3 separate regions of the Homo sapiens genome follow, and all the other regions are linked to region 1. The links are contacts of gene promoters, found by promoter capture Hi-C in blood cells and fetal thymus (Javierre and others, 2016). All regions are on one chromosome and are shown on one strand. Each heading gives the region's core, a stretch centred on a gene start or on the middle of the fragment in contact. The rest is flanking DNA. Distances are from core to core; before and after follow the strand shown. Region 1 holds the start of RNF2 (ring finger protein 2). Region 2 overlaps NIBAN1 (niban apoptosis regulator 1). Region 3 overlaps SWT1 (SWT1 RNA endoribonuclease homolog).

Region 1 (2,758 bases), core at 71-2,570:
GCACTTAATACAAAACAGATAGATTAGCTACCAATTAGACTAAGTATTCCAGCTGATCATCTTGGAATTACCAAAAGTAGATTATGTAATGCAAATCGCTCGTACATTCGTTTTAAACATATCCTCGGTTTAGAACACTGAAACCATGCCTTAATTTTTTTAATTGAAAAACAGCGTATTACTAAAATACTGAGTGCATATGTATATCCTTTTCACGGCACTTCAAAGAAACCTGACATCTTCAAATCATTTTACAATGTAAAGTTACATTCTCTAAAACTTCCGACAGCCTCGAAAAAGATACCCAAAGGGGCTTCAAATAGATGAGTCTATAATTGATCTTAGCGGGCAAATAACTGGAATGAACCTCAAAGTTTGAGATCAATTTTTACTAACACCATCTCTGAAAGCAAGAAGGAGACTTCTGTAGAAGGTAAACGATTCTGACCAGCAGGACGTGGGCTCCCGGCAAAAGTGGGTACTAGCATCTCAGCGTAAACGACACGGTTCAAAACGCGAATCTTCCCGCAGAAACTAACCAAGACACCCCCTCCCCCCACGACTCCTCCTGGGTAAGCTCACGGTTTTAGAAAGCAGCAACAGATACTCCAGAGCAGGAGGCGGCACTCCAGGAATGTGTGAAGCTGAAGGGGTCTCCCCGAGGAACCCCGAGGTCGAGGAGCTCCTCTACACTGGAACCCCGACTCCGACCCCCCAGAAGGAAGGAGCGATATCTGCACAAAGTGCCCCCTACCCCACCCCCACGATGCAGACACACATCCCTAGCTGCGAGGCGAAAGCCCAGAGAAAAAACTCGCATTCCACTCCGTCCGCCTCCGGAGTAGGGCTGCAGAGAGGCTGGGGCCCCCGCCCCCGGAGGCGAGGGGACCGCGCCGCAGCGCCGGCCTCCGCGCAGAGGAAAGGGCAGCGAAAGGCTCGCGGCGAAGGAAGGAATCCCGGCGCTTCGCTGACTGGGTCCTCCGCAAACCAGCTCCCTTCCCTCCCACGACCCTCGAAGACACGGGAACAATGAGAACCCGCTTCACCCGCCGTCTCCGCCGCGAGAGCGGCCGGGGGCGGCGGCGGCGCCATGTCCCTTCACACCCCCGCGGACACACACCCCCCCCACACTCCGGGGCCCCCGTCAGTCGCCTGCAACGCTGCCGAGTAGACGCGTGTCCCGGCCCGCTGCTTCCGCGTCCTTCGCCTCCCCGCCCGCCCCACTCACCGGCTCCTGCCCCAGCCCAGGGCTCCGCTGGCCGCGGCCGGAGCAAGACTCTGGTATCAGCTGCCGCGGACGCCGGCGCCGCCGCACAATATGGCGAGCCTCAGCTTCCGCAATGGAGCTCGGGAAATACAACAGGGGCCGCTCAATATTCATGAGAGACTGAGGGGAAGCCGGCTCGGCCGGCGCTGCGGGGAGGGCGGGAAGGAGCGAGCGAGCGAGGGGCGGAGGCGCGGGACGAGGACGTGCACGGCGCGGGGAGGCCCGCGGCGCGAGGGAGGGTGCGCCGCCGCGTGTTGGCCTGGAGAACCCGCGCCACCGCCCCGCCCTGGGCTGGCCGGCCACGCCCCCCCGGCGCCCACCGCGGTCCGACGTAGCCCCCGGGCAACGCCCGGATGACGGCGCAGCCACCTCGTGCTCAACCTTCTGCTTGGGTTCTTCTGCCCTGGCTTCGGCCCACCCTTTACACCTTCCTGGCCGGCTTCTGGGGTTTGGGCTCAGACTTCTTTCTCATGAGTTCGTCCTCTTAAACCTGTCCCACCCGGCGGAAATCCTCATCAGGCTTTGGTTTGCAGAACTTCACATGAACTTCGGCACCCTTCCGCTCTCGTACAACAAACATACACTTTTCATCCTTGCAGGATAAAACTGCAAGTGTAATTGCTCCTGGGAAAATGACCTTCCACTCTAAACTTAGCTTAACATTCTGATTGTGGTCATCAGCTCTTACTATTTACCTTGCTGCTGCTTTATTCCTACCTCCTTGGCCCCTTCCAGTGTTACCTTCTGAACTTGAGGATTTACGAAGTAATAGATTAATAGATGTAATCATTACCTAAAACACAGCCAGTTAGTCTCCAGTAAATTATCCGACATTTAATGCATATAAATTATGAGCTGAAGAAGTAACGAAGAATTGAAAGTTCCCTGATCTCTATATGTACTATTGTTGAGATGTCATGTTCTCTTGAGAAGATAACCAGCAATACCAGACCGTAAATCTGAAGGCATAGAGGCATAAACCAATGGACTGCAGTGGGAATTGGGCAAACTAGGTTCATAGCCTCCAATGTGTGTCTATGTGACTTACGTAGATTGCGTAGCTCCTCTGCACTTCATTTTCTTCGTCTGCGAGATGAGAGAATTGTATTGAATCCTAGGTCCTTTCCAGTTCTTTAACGCTCTGAAACTCTCTATAAGCAATTCCAAATAAATGACATGAATTTACATAGGAATTTGGAAAAGAAAAATATCAATTCCAGCTGGTGTGTTTGGGGATGATTTCCTGAGGAGCCGGGATTTAAGATGGCCTTTGACGCCTTGGATGGGTGGAAAGAAAAAGGACAGGTGTTAAATACAGCACATTATATATGCTACCTAACAATCCATCAAAGAAAACAAGCATTATTCTTTTTCAGTGGCTTGAAAGCTTTTGCCTACTATCTATAACTTTAAATAACAAGTGACAGTTATCTGACTCTACAAGCCCTTCAAGGTTAAACTCTTCCTCCAATGTGGGGGGAGAAAAAAAGG
Region 2 (2,758 bases), core at 188-2,687, 230 kb after region 1:
GGCCACTAGTTAGTAGCGAAAGGATCTTTTCCAGCAGTCTCATCAGCTCTCAGGTTTCTCCCTTTTCCGGGAGGGAGGAAAAAGCTCCCCATGTCCCACAATCCTGTACATGCCTAATCCTGTCACCCACAGCCATCAGCAAAGAGTGCAAGTCAGATTATTCCAAAGGGAATAGCAGTTGACATCCTGTAGTGCCAAAACCGTTCCTAGCCAAAAGGGACTTTACTGAGAGCCCTCATTTTAAAAATGTACTTCAATGCAGCCGGGCGCAGTGGCTCAGGCCTGTAATCCTGGCACTTTGGGAGGCCGAGGCGGGCGGATCGTGAGGTCGGGAAATCGAGACCATCCTGGCTAACATGGTGAAACCCTGTCTCTACTAAAAATACCAAAAATTAGCCGGGCGTGGTGGCGGGGTGCCTGTAGTCCCAGCTGAGGCAAGAGAATGGCATGAACCCAGGAGGTGGAACTTTCAGTGAGCCAAGATCGCGCCTGCACTCTAGTTGGGAGACAGAGTGAGACTCCGTCTCAAAAAAAAAAACAAAAAAAAAAAGGAAGAAAGTACCTCAATGCATTGTTGTTCTTTCGGAACATTCCACTGTAAATTATCTTCAGTAAGATTTTGCTGTTTCTGTAAGACTTCACTGCCTCCCAGGCCTAATGTATAAGCCAGAAGGAACTCAGTTTTCCAGAAATTAAGGAGCCCATTTTAACCTAAAATATTGGCTTTACTCCCAGGTTCTCTTAACTTAGCCAATGATTTTTCCTACCTAAGCACACAAGAAAAATGAAAAAAGGGGTAGAACACAGAAATCCCTGTGAATTTTCAAAAGCCAAATTTTATAACCCCTGCAATATTACTGCTTACTACCAGTTCCTTTCTGACCCAGTCAGATATACGAGGCCTCTGACTGGGTCCAAGCCAGTTAATTCCTGGATCAAATCTGTTCCTGGACCCAGTCCAGTTTCTGTCATGACTACAAACCCAGTTTGGATCAGAAACTTGCTCGAAGAAACTCAGAGAGCTCAAAACACAAATCTATGGAGCTTCAAATTCCGAGAGGGAGCTTACCGCGATCCCCAGCCGCTCTGAGAGATCAATGGACACAGGTGGGACCTGCAGGTACCTTGTGTGTTCACTCAGCGCTCCTGGGAGTCACTAGAAGCTCCACTTCGGATCCTGCTTCTGACACCATCTGATAAAAGAAAAACTTCAGCCAAATTAAATTTAAAGGAGTTTACCTGAGCAATGAATGATTCGCAAATCGGGCAGTCCCTAGAATCACAGCAGATTCACAAATTCTCCGGGGGTGCCTCACAGTCAGAATAAATTTACAGACAAAAAAGGTAAGGTGACGTACAGGAATCAGAAGTGAGGAACAGAAATAGTGAGACTGGTTACAACTCAGCATTTGCCTTATTTGAACATTTAGCAGTCTATGAGTAGTTGAAGTATGGCTGCTGGGACTGGTCAACACTCAGTTATTGTTACAGGTGCATACTACTAAGTTAGGTTTTCAATTTTATCTGACTCTTACAGTTCATCCACAAGGACTAAAATATGGAAGTATGGAGTCCTTCTCAGGCTGTATTTAGTTTGCTTTAACAGATCAATATTTCTGAAAGTATGGTCCCCAGACCAGCAGTGTCATCATCACCTGGTTGTTAAAAATGCAAATTCTCGGGCCCCACCAATGATCTACTAAATCAGAAAATCTAGGGGTAGTGCCCAGGAGTCTGTTTTAACAAGACCTCCAGAGGTTCTGGTGTACCCTACAGTTTAAGAATCACTGAAAAAGATATAAATTGGCAGCTTGGTTTTATACTTGACATATCATGATGAACATCCTTACAAGTCAGTAGATAAAACCAGATGTCTCTATTTCTTTTCCTTTATTCTTTATGCATATATACACATATATAATTGTGCATTAACAGGATCATTTTAGAAATGTTTTGGGGTTTCTTATTGCAGCCTGTTTTGTTTTACTTGTCTTCACTCTTCCCCTTCCCCAATGCCACCTCCTCCCCTCAAGCAACTCGTGTTAACAACTTAGCATATGCCATTCTGTATTTTCCCCATTCTTATCTAGCACATAAAACACACCCTTAGAGGCTAGACTTTAGATTGTCTGCTTTAAGAAAAATGGGATTATATTTTATACATTACTCTGCTTATCAGTTTCTCTTCCAAAAATACCCCATGAAACTGTTTCCAAGGTAACTGTTTTAGCTCTAAATCTTTCTTTGTAATGGCTGCATGATGTTTCATGTATGGATACACCATGATTTATTCATTCATCTCAATATTGCTGGCATTATGAATAAAGCATAATAAATTAATATTTTTATGTATACACATATATATGTATATATATATACACACACACATATATATGTGTATATATATATACACACACACATATATATGTGTATATATATATATACACACACATATACCCTGATGTATTTATTTCTATAGTATATTCTCCTAAGACAAGATAGCCAGGTTGAAAGTACATTTCTCATGTTAAAAAATGTTTCCATTGCATTTCAAAAAAAAGGATTTAAATTTTACATTTCCACTAATTGTGTATGATAAGGGCTTTCTCCCCCATACTGCTATCAGCTATAGGTGTTATCATTTGATTAAACTTTTGCCAATCTGATAGGAGCAAAGTGGGAACCCATTTTTCCTCTTCTGTCTGCTTAATTGATATTTTTTAAAAATAGACACATTCCATTTGGTGAGGAGCTGCAA
Region 3 (2,758 bases), core at 85-2,584, 130 kb before region 1:
ATTACTTTCTTGATGGTCATAATGATGTTTTCGTTTCCACTCATGAACAGTCCGCTTATATGTAAAATCTGAAAGTAAATGTTCAGTTTTCTGCCTAGTCACATTTAATGAAACCTGGGAGCTTTCCAGGTATTCTCTTTCTTCCTGCTTAGTCTTCGAATTATTAGAATCTATGTTGAAGACATTTTCTTCTACAAGTTTCTGGAGGGTGTCACGGGATTTTATAGGGATTTTGAAACTGATCTTCTGTCTTCTAGATCCCAAGGGTTCCTTAATTATCTTGTTGGAGTTATAATCCTGAGAAAATTGATTTCTCTTCCATTTCTCTAAGACACATTTTTCAGAATTGTCTCTAAATTTACTGTTTCTTCCTTTCTTGAGTTCTTTCATCTTCTCTCTCTGAACAAGTAAATGAGACCATTTATTTTCACTTGCCTGGCCTTCGGCTTTAGGTTTCACATCACTGGCAATCTTAGGACTACTAAGGCTTTTAATTCCATGGTCAAGCTTGCTCCCAGCATTTGTCAATTTGATATCTTTAGGTTTAAAGTCTACACATTTATGTATGTCTTTTTTAGTTCCATTTGAAGAAGGACTCTGCAAAATAATTTGATTATCATTTGAATATGATGCTTCTTTGAGTTTAATAGGTCTTTGGGATGAAGAACCGATTTTTGGTCTCCTTCTGAGAGTGTCAATTTCTACACTCAATCTGTAAAACAGCACAGAAACCTAGGTTACATTATAATTATACATAATGTTGCACTCTATCATTTTAGTTAGAATAACAGAATTGGGCTGACATTAAGCTTCATAAAAAGTAGAAATAGCTACATTAAGAATGAAGTGGAAAGGATTACTCACTTAATGGTGTTAGAATAATTAGTTTGCTATTTGGAAAAAAAAATTACAACTTTAAATAGTAACAAACAACATAAATTCCAAATGGACTAAATGCTTAAGTGTAAAATAATTATTATTATCATAATAATTTTGTGCTTCATATTAAACCCTTAAAAACCAGTGAGGAAAAACAGAACGTATGTGTGATTTCATTTTTTTTGAGACGGGTTCTCACTCTGTTGCCTAGGCTAGAGTGCAGTGATGCAAACATGGCTCACTGCAGCTTCAACCTCCCAGGCTCAGGAAATCCTTCTACCTCCCAGACTACCACGTAACTGGGACTACAGGAGCATGCCACAATGCCTAGCTAATTTTTGTAATTTTTTTGTAGTGACAAGGTTTTGCTATGTTGCCCAGGCTGGTCTCAAACTCCTGGGCTCAAGCAATCCACTTGCCTCGGCCTCCCAAGGTGCTGGGATTACAGGTGTGAGCCACTGTACCCCGGCCTATCCGATTTCTCTTTTTCTTTTTTTGAGACAGCGCCTCACTTTGTCACCAGGCTGGAGTGCAGTGGCGCGATCTTGGCTCACTCCAAACTCAACATATCAGGCTCAAGAGATCCTCCTGCCTCAGCCTCCTGAGTAGCTGGCACTACAGATGCACACTACCACATCTGGCTAATTTTTGTATTTTTTTTTTTTTTTTTTTTTGGTAGAGACAGGGTTTCACCATGTTGCCCAGGCTGGTCGAACTCCTGGGCTCAAGCAATCTGCCCACCTTAGCCTCCCCAGTGTGCTGAGGCTACAGGCATGAGCCACTACGCCCAACCTGATTTCTTAATAGAGAACTTCCCAAACTTAAAAACAGTGGGAGAAATAACAAAGGATAACACTGATAATATGTGACTATTTACTTTAAAACTTTAGCGTATTAAAAATTAATAAAAATTTAAAGAACTAGGAAATGGTATTTGTTAGATGTACTAACTTCTAGCAAAATAATGTTAATAAGCTTACTAGCCTTAGTAGATAAAAAGCTCACCAAAAACTACTAAGATTCTAGAATAGGGCATAAACAGAAAATTAATAAAAGAAAACAGCTAATAAACATTTTTAAAAAGTTTGACTTCTCTAGCAATCACAGACATGCTAATAATAACAATAACATACCATTTTCTTCTTTTTTTTTTTTTTTTTTTGAGACGGAGTCTCGCTTTGTCGCCAGGCTGGACTGCAGTGGTGCAATCTTGGCTCACCACAACCTCCGCCTCCCAGGTTCAAGCGATTCCCCTGCCTCAGCCTCCCAAGTAGCTGGGACTACAGGCACACACCACCACGCCCGGCTAGTTTTTTGTATTTTAGTAGAGACGGGGTTTCATCATGTTGGCCAGGATGGTCTCGATTTGACCTCGTGATCTGCCCACCTCGGCCTCCCAAAGTGCTGGGATTACAGGTGTGAGCCACCGCAGCTGGCCCATACCATTTTCTTCTATCAAATTAGCAAAGATTTTACAATAACATCAAATACTCGCAAGGGGTTGTAAAATGGACACTCTCACATGTTGCTGGTAGAAATGTAAAACAACATAACAGTCCCACAAAGAAATGTGAATATAAATTAAAAACTCTAAAAATGGTCATTTTTTTACATCTGAAATTCTCATTTTAGAAACCATACCAAGGTGAAGAAAATCACACATGAAAAAAATATTAAAAGATATTTAATTCAGGATTACTTATAATAGCAAAACAATCAGGTACAAAGTAACTGCTAAAATTTTGGAAATGACTTTAAAAAGTGACATATTCATATGACGGAATATCACAGTTTTTTAAAAGGATGTTTATGAAAAGTCTTCAGTGACATAAAACATATTGAAAATCAAAAACAAGCAGGATACAAATCTGTACATATA

The links. Contacts are between HindIII fragments. The CHiCAGO score rates a contact against its expected background, and 5 or more counts as called.
Region 2: a fragment that was not itself captured here is called in contact with the fragment with the promoter of RNF2 in region 1 in 10 of 17 cell types (M2 macrophages, megakaryocytes, total CD8 T cells and 7 more); the score reaches 7.0 in M2 macrophages.
Region 3: a fragment that was not itself captured here is called in contact with the fragment with the promoter of RNF2 in region 1 in 3 of 17 cell types (megakaryocytes, erythroblasts and fetal thymus); the score reaches 8.3 in megakaryocytes.

What each region holds. Positions count from the first base shown.
Region 1 is chr1:185,044,120-185,046,877 of GRCh38, reverse strand. RNF2 (ring finger protein 2) reads right to left here and starts at 1,320. Exons shown (of 7, transcript NM_007212.4): 1 at 1,229-1,320. RefSeq lists a silencer at 1,431-1,690. The HindIII fragment of the contact is 4,610 bases long and covers 1-2,656 here.
Region 2 is chr1:184,809,294-184,812,051 of GRCh38, reverse strand. All of the region lies in intron 9 of NIBAN1 (niban apoptosis regulator 1), which reads left to right. It also overlaps a transcript of LOC107985238 not described here. Among named protein-coding and RNA genes, the nearest start is that of EDEM3, 56 kb to the right of the region's middle. The HindIII fragment of the contact is 3,316 bases long and covers 1-2,758 here.
Region 3 is chr1:185,172,326-185,175,083 of GRCh38, reverse strand. It overlaps SWT1 (SWT1 RNA endoribonuclease homolog), which reads right to left. Exons shown (of 19, transcript NM_017673.7): 5 at 1-712. Among named protein-coding and RNA genes, the nearest start is that of SWT1, 17 kb to the right of the region's middle. The HindIII fragment of the contact is 1,045 bases long and covers 812-1,856 here.